2 separate regions of the Homo sapiens genome follow, and region 1 is linked to region 2. The links are contacts of gene promoters, found by promoter capture Hi-C in human tissues and cell types (Jung and others, 2019). All regions are on one chromosome and are shown on one strand. Each heading gives the region's core, a stretch centred on a gene start or on the middle of the fragment in contact. The rest is flanking DNA. Distances are from core to core; before and after follow the strand shown. Region 1 overlaps ZCCHC14 (zinc finger CCHC-type containing 14). Region 2 holds the start of JPH3 (junctophilin 3).

Region 1 (3,691 bases), core at 1,094-3,593, 130 kb before region 2:
TTGAAAGTAGGAAGGGTAGACGTACAGATGGTGACATCTGTACGTAACCATTTCAGGTTTCTTCCTTAAATAGTGGTATTCAGTATCCCACTGGCCAATGGTAAGGATTTTATTTAACATTTTAAAAATAATATTGCTCATTAAGAGATATCTTAAGGAAAAATTACATAAATTCAGGAGAGTATGTGTCATCACATTGTGTTGTGCATGTTCATTCAGCTGTTTTAGAATATGTTCTTATATTACAATAAATGATACCCTTAATTACATAGTCAAAAAAAAAAAAAGTGGTCCTCCACTTCAGCCTCCAGAGAAGCTGGGACTACAGGAGGCGCATGCCACCATGCCAGGCTTAACCTACAAACAGTTCCTTATCATCTACTGCCTCAGGTTCAAACCCCTTCCCCCGTTTTTTAGCACACTGTTAGATGTTTTTCCTAACTTAACTTATAAAGTCTTATTATTCCCTAACCTAGTGGTTCTCAACTGGGGGAAATTTTGTCCCCAGGGGACATCTGGCCACAGCTGAAAACATTTTCTGTGAACTGGGGTGGGGATTCTCGTGGCATGCAGCCAACGGAGACCAGCGATGCTGTTAAACATCCTGCAGAGCCCAGGACAGCTCCAGAGCAAGGAAGTACCTGCCCGCAGGCCTCAGGAGTGCCAAGGCTGAGAGGCCCTCCCTGATACAGTTTATTTTCCCTAATATTGAGTACTGCGTCTGCATGTGGAATACCTGGGAGCTGGCAAACGACGCAGGCTGAGAAAGCCAGGTCTAGACATCTTTAAAAAGAATACGGTCAGTTTAAAAAGCCAGGTGCCAATGGAATGCCTACGATGTCAAGACACATTGTGAGAGACCATGGAGAATAAAAGAACAAAAAGTACTAGCATTTTTGTCTGTTTTTTTGGAGACATGGTCTATGTTGCCCAGGCTGGTCTCAAATTGCCAGGCTCAAGTCATCCTCCTGCCTCAGCCTCCCGAGTAGCTGGGACCACAGGCATGAGACAATGCACCCGGCTATAACCACCTTTTGTACAGTTCTTCCCAAGTATCCATTATGCAGCCATATGAGATCATCCATCTGATCCCTGCAGTACGTGACGTACACAGATCAAATTATCTCCATGTTAAAAACAAGAAAAACTGAATGTCAGTTCCTAAATGCCTTCCCCAAGGTCATCTGGCCAGTAGGGAGCAGAATCAAGTGCAGACTTTAGGTCCTGTAACTACAGAGGTCTGTGATTTGTGCACATTAAATCCAAGGAGGCGAGCGGAGCACAGCGGTCAGGAGCCGTCTCGGCGGCCAGTGCTGGGTCCACACAGGGCAGCCCCTGTTTCGTCCACTATGGGATGGAAATAATGGCACCTACCTAAGGCTTTTGTGAGAATTCAGTAAAATGCATTTCTAGTACTGTGAACTGGAAAAATGTTAGCATTCAAAATGTTAGTTGCTGTTATTATTGTGGTGCTTGCGGTGTGGCTGGAGGACAATTAAATTGCTTCAGTGCTGTCACAGAGACTCGGAGCTCTGGGAGGATCCAGGAGGGGCACCGGCAACTGGGCCTCCCGGAAGGCAGGGCTCCCTGTGTCTACAGCATCTGCTGCACCCCTGTGGGCAGCACACCCCCAGAAGCACTGGGGATGAGGACAGAGCCACCCACAGCCACCCCAGCTCCGTGTTCCCTGCACTGGGGGCCAGGGCCTATCTTCTCAAGTAGAGACTTTACCACGACATGTGATCGTCTGTTCTAAAACCAGTGCACTTGCCAGGCACAGTGGCTCACGCCTGCAATCCCAGCACTTTGGGGGGCTGAGGCAGGAGGATCGCTTGAGCCCAGTAGTTCAAAACCAGCCTGGGGCCAGGAGCAGTGGTTCACACCTGTAATCCCAGCACTTTGGGAGGCTTAGACAGGTGGAACTCCTGAGGTCAGGAGTTCAAGACCAGCCTGGGCAACATAGTGAGACTACATCTCTACCACAATTTAGAAATTACCCGAGTGTGGTGGTGTGTGCCTGTACCTAGCTGCTCAGGAGGCTGAGGTGGGGGGATCGCTTGAACCTGGGAAGTTGAGGCTGCAATGAGCTATGATTGCATCACCGCACTCCAACCTGGGAGACAGCACGACACCCCAACTCAAATAAATAAATAAATAAATAAATAATGAAAACAAGCACATGACAGCTTGAATAATTATTTAATTACTTGGACTACAGTTAAAATGTTCTCAGGAGTCAAATGCTCATAAAGCTGCAGGGGGTGGCCTCGTCCTCAGCTGAGTGTAACCTGGGGCCACTGTCTGGACAGCAAGGAGGCAGGATGTGATGAGCTTTTTTCCCATCTGTAGCTTTTCACCCACTAATCCCACTGGGAGGAGTCTGCTGTTAGGATACAGTCAATCAGCGATGTAGTCAAAGGTTTGTGTGTAAGGAGATTTATCTCAGCTTGAGCAAAAAGAAAAACAAACAACATAAACATCCCAGCAACAGATTACTATTGAAATAGGTCGCTAAATGTGTATGTCCAGATGACTGAATATTATGCAGTCTTAAAAGGCATGCAGGATGCTCACAGATAATGTGAAAATGGGCAGAACGTACATCAGTTGTGTGCAAACAGGCACTGAGAAAAGACAAAGGTACACCGAAATATTACTAGCATTTATCTCTGGGTAATTTTTATTTTATTTTTCTGTTTTCCAATTTTTCTGTGAGGAACAATCACTACTTCTAGAATTTAAAAAAGTTACAGATATTAAGTCTAAATATAAATACCTCCCTACAAGATGTGAATGATATGAAAAGTATAGAAAAAGCAAGCTTCTAAAACCATAACCACACTTTCCTTCCACACATATCTCGAGGGCCGGGCACATCAGGGGTTAACATGAACTTCAAAGTGTCTACCCCCACAAACAAAATACAGTAAACATGACTATGAAAAAATAGTGTTTTCAATTTGTTTTCCAATTAACCTACCTCTATACAGGAAGGAGTAACGTCTGTTAAATACTTTTAAGTTAACGTAAAAAACATAAAACATAAAAACAAAATAGATTTGTAAGCATTTTGCTAAAATAGTCATTACGTGTCTCTAAAAACCAGAACAAGAAGACAGACAGTTTAAGAGTGAAAGCTATTTGCTGACTTAGACCAAGTGAAAGCCAACGCTAACCAAAAAAACATTTTCCATGTAAAAACATTCCTTTTAATATTTCTTAACCTAGAGCTCTACTCATCAAAAAGAGAAAGAGAGAAAAAAGATTACTGCTTAAAATCTCAGCAAAGGGAACCCAGTACTTAACTAGACCAGCTCCCAGAGTGACCAGATGCAAATCTCTTTCACAAATAGCCACAGGGCAGCACGGCCTCCTCTAGGAACACCGGCCCCAACTGCCCACCCGCGGGGGCTTCCAGGCCTCCAGGTGCCAAGACATCCCACCAGGGGCCAACCACATGGGACCTCTGGGGTAGGGCTTCCCTACAGTCAGCCTCCAACACACCCAGAATCCCTGTTCCAGACACTGCCTGTAGAAACAGAGGGAGTCTAAAGTCGAGAGCCCTAGGGAGGCTAAAGACATACTTCCTAGTCCTGTAATCCCATAAAACAGGGTTCAAAGGGCATCTTAACGGATGTATTGACTTCAGAGAGAACACCAGCATCTTGCTTGTACTCATGAGCAACAACTC
Region 2 (3,419 bases), core at 711-3,210:
TCAACAGGCAGAGGGCTGGGTGTCTCCATGCAGGAATCCATGACCCTCCCTGGGGGGCTGGCTTCCAATAACATTACTTCCCACTTCCCGAGCGCTTACTGAGTGCTGGGCGCCTAGCTTTTGAATTCCCACGGTAACCCTATGGGAACTCTGCCATCTCCATTTTACAGATGAGAAAACTGAGCTCAGGGACATTAGGTGACTGCCCAAAGCCATACTGCTGGTGGGCCCCGGAGCCAAGGTTTCGACCCGAATCTCTTGAGGACAAGGTGCAGTTCCTTTGGCCCACACATTTACAACAGAGAAATTTCCATGGACATGAAACAGCCCAGAGATATTATTTCATACCCATTTAGATGAACAAAGTAAAATAAATGGAAAGAAAATCAGAAGTTTGAGGACACCAGTGCTGGCCAGGAAATAGAGAACCACAAACCCAGGCACACTGAAGGGTGAGAGGTCAGTTGCTCCAGGTGTTTGGAAAGCAATTTGGCAGCTTCCAATAAAGTCCAAGACGTAGCTGGTCCAATGATGCCACCGCAGACATTTAGAGAACTTCTGTAGAGGGGCACAGGGAGACAGCGCTAGAAAGCTCAATGAATCACTGTAACTGCACAAAACAAAACAAAGCCGACCGCCCTAAATGTTCCTCATTGACAGTGGGTGTATGAGGAGGTGACTGTCCTCCTGGCTGCTGGTACTCTGGGGAGGGAGCTTTGGTGCCCAAGGCAAGAGACTGAGGTTGAACTCTGGGACTCCCAGGAGGGGCTGATTTTTCTGAGAGCCCCGTGAGCCAAGAGTGGGGACCATCCTGATTCTCTCGGACAGGGGAAGATCTGAGCAGGGCTCCTGGCTGATTGGAGGCTCCGAATCGCACCTCTTCTCCTGTCCTAATCTCAGGCTCCAGGCCTGGCTTGCAGTTTCTGGCTCACCGCGCTGCGGTCACCGGCCCACACTCCCAGGAGCGAGGACCCTGGGCAGCCTCCACACCCCCATCAGCCCACTGCACCGGTCTGCTGCCATTTCCCGCACGCATTTCAGGAGGGCTGGGGACGCCGGCTTCTGCCTGAGGATTTATGGTCCAGGAAATGCATTTTAAATGGATCCCAGGATGCTCGGATCCAAGAATCAGACTCTCTCTTGTGCGTGGGAAGAGGGGCGGAGGGTGAGAGTATGTCTGGAGAGAGACCTAGAAACGCCCGAATGGCGGTCCCACTTTGCTCCCCAAAAGCGCGACCGTTCCCCGAGTGGGGGGGCGCTACCTGTTGGCCAGGGCGCAGGGCGCACGGAATTCGGGTGACTTTGCTCCAAGATACACGCGTGTGTCCCGACTCTCACTCAATTTATAGGGGAGAGGGACTCGCCAAATCCCTGTTTTCTGGGGTAAGCCCCCCTCCCCCCACTCTTGGACCCAAGCTGCCCGGAAGGAAGAAGGAAGCATTGTTTGTCACCGGAGAAAACCACCTGTGGTTTGCAAAGGGCCTCAGTCGAGTCAGGGGCAGGCGGGGCAGATCCGAGCCCGGCGGGAGGGGCGAGGCGCGGGGGCGGGCAGGGGCGAGGGTAGGGGCGCTCAGCTGGCAGGTCCTGCTCTGCAGGCCTCACCGCCCAGCTCCCGGGAGGGGGCCGAGGGCGCCCTGAGTGCTGCGCGCCTTCCCATGACGCAGTTCCTGTGCCTTTAAATCCCACTCCCGGAGGGGGCGGGGGCGCCCCGGCTGGACCCCGGTTTCCAGTCCGGCGGGGGCCCCGGGGAAGCCCAGGGCGGGGAGCGCGGGGCTGGGGGCGCGGAGGGCGGGGCGCCCGGGGTCCCCGCCCGCGCGCCGCGCCCTAGCCTGCTGGGCCGCGCCCCTCTTGGGACCGCCGCGCTCCGGGGGCGGGGGCGGGGGCGGGGGCGGGGGGCGGGGGGCGGGGGGCGGGCGGGGGCGCGCGGGCGGGCGGGGTGCGGGCGCGCGCCGCGCGGCCCGAGCGCGCGAGCCGGGCCCGGAGCGCACGCCGCCGCCGCCACCGCCGCCGCCGCCGCCCGAGCCGCCGCATTGCTGCTGCTGCTGCCGCCGCCGCCCCGCGCCCGGCCCGCGGCCCCCAATATGGTGCAGCCGCCAGCGCCGCCGCCCGTGCCGCCGCCGCCGCCCGCGGGCCCCGCCGCCGCCCTCGGGCGCCCGCAGCGCGGCAGCCGCAGGTGGGGGGCCGCGGCCCGGGCCTGAGCTGCCCCCCGCCCGGCCTCGGCGCGGCGCCCTCCCCGCGGGGCTGCCGGCGAGGGGCCCTCTCGCCGCTGAGGTGGAGCCGCGGGCCCCGCCGCCGCCGCTCCTGCCCCCTCCCTCCCTCCTCCCCTCCCCCTCCCCTCCGGTCCTGTCTCCAGCGGGAGCGCGAGACGCTGGTCAGGCTCCGCGGCGCAGCTCGAAAAGGAATAATCGCCCCCGATTGACTGAAATTCCTCCGGAGCCGGCGCCGCGGCCGCCCGCGCCCGAGACCGCGCTCCGGGGCCGCGTCCTCCTCTCCTCCGGAAAACGCTCGCGACCCAGGGCCGCCGGCGGCCGCGACTCTGCTGTGTCGATCGCCTGAGTCCGTTTTCACCGTTTGCGGGATCTGGAACCGAGTTACATGCATGTCCAGTGGGGGCAGGTTTAATTTTGACGACGGAGGGTCCTACTGTGGAGGCTGGGAGGACGGCAAGGCGCACGGCCATGGCGTCTGCACCGGCCCCAAGGGCCAAGGCGAATACACCGGCTCGTGGAGCCACGGCTTCGAGGTGCTGGGCGTCTACACCTGGCCCAGCGGCAACACGTACCAGGGCACCTGGGCGCAGGGCAAGCGCCACGGCATCGGCCTGGAGAGCAAGGGGAAGTGGGTGTACAAGGGCGAGTGGACGCACGGATTCAAGGGGCGCTACGGGGTGCGGGAGTGCGCGGGCAACGGGGCCAAATACGAAGGGACCTGGAGCAACGGGCTGCAGGACGGCTACGGGACCGAGACCTACTCGGACGGAGGTAGGTGCCGCGGGCCGGGCCGGGCCGGGGCGGGAGGGACGTGCTTCCGATCGCGCCCCTTCTGTGGATCTCTGGGGAAGTTGAGCTGCGTCCTCCGGTTGGGCCGTGGGCACCAGGGGCCTTTCCCGGGCTTCCCTGGAAGCCACGGCGGCTCCTGGCTACAGGTTGCCCCGCTGCCTGGTGGGGACAGTGCCCCTGTGCCAGCTGAAGGGTGTTGGGGGCTTTCCAGGGGCAGAGCCAGGCGGGGCCCAGCAGAGCCTCCGTGCGTCGGACACAGCAGGCCGGAGACCTGCGGGAAGGGCCAGGCTGGGCCCGCGGCCCTGGGGAACCCAGCAAGGGCAGAGGGGGCTGGGAGAAGGGCCCCTCCCCTTGTTGGCTTTGCCCCCCACCCTGGAGGCCGCCCTTCGATCAGGCCCCAGCTTCGCTTCTGGTGTTCCT

The links. The method cuts DNA at HindIII sites, captures the fragments that hold promoters and counts their contacts. A contact is called where the count stands out against the background at its distance.
Region 1: a fragment that was not itself captured here is called in contact with the fragment with the promoter of JPH3 in region 2 in 2 of the 25 tissues and cell types used here (H1 embryonic stem cells and IMR-90 fibroblasts).

The regions. Positions count from the first base shown.
Region 1 is chr16:87,468,190-87,471,880 of GRCh38, forward strand. All of the region lies in intron 1 of ZCCHC14 (zinc finger CCHC-type containing 14), which reads right to left. Among named protein-coding and RNA genes, the nearest start is that of ZCCHC14, 23 kb to the right of the region's middle. RefSeq lists enhancers at 1,057-1,642, 1,643-2,227, 2,913-3,691. The HindIII fragment of the contact is 5,698 bases long and covers 1-3,691 here.
Region 2 is chr16:87,600,548-87,603,966 of GRCh38, forward strand. JPH3 (junctophilin 3) reads left to right here and starts at 1,961. Exons shown (of 5, transcript NM_020655.4): 1 at 1,961-2,981. The coding sequence starts at 2,600. It overlaps LOC124903750 (a long non-coding RNA gene), which reads right to left and starts at 1,636. Exons shown (of 2, transcript XR_007065172.1): 1 at 1,465-1,636; 2 at 1-558. RefSeq lists an enhancer at 500-1,062. The HindIII fragment of the contact is 15,663 bases long and covers 1-3,419 here.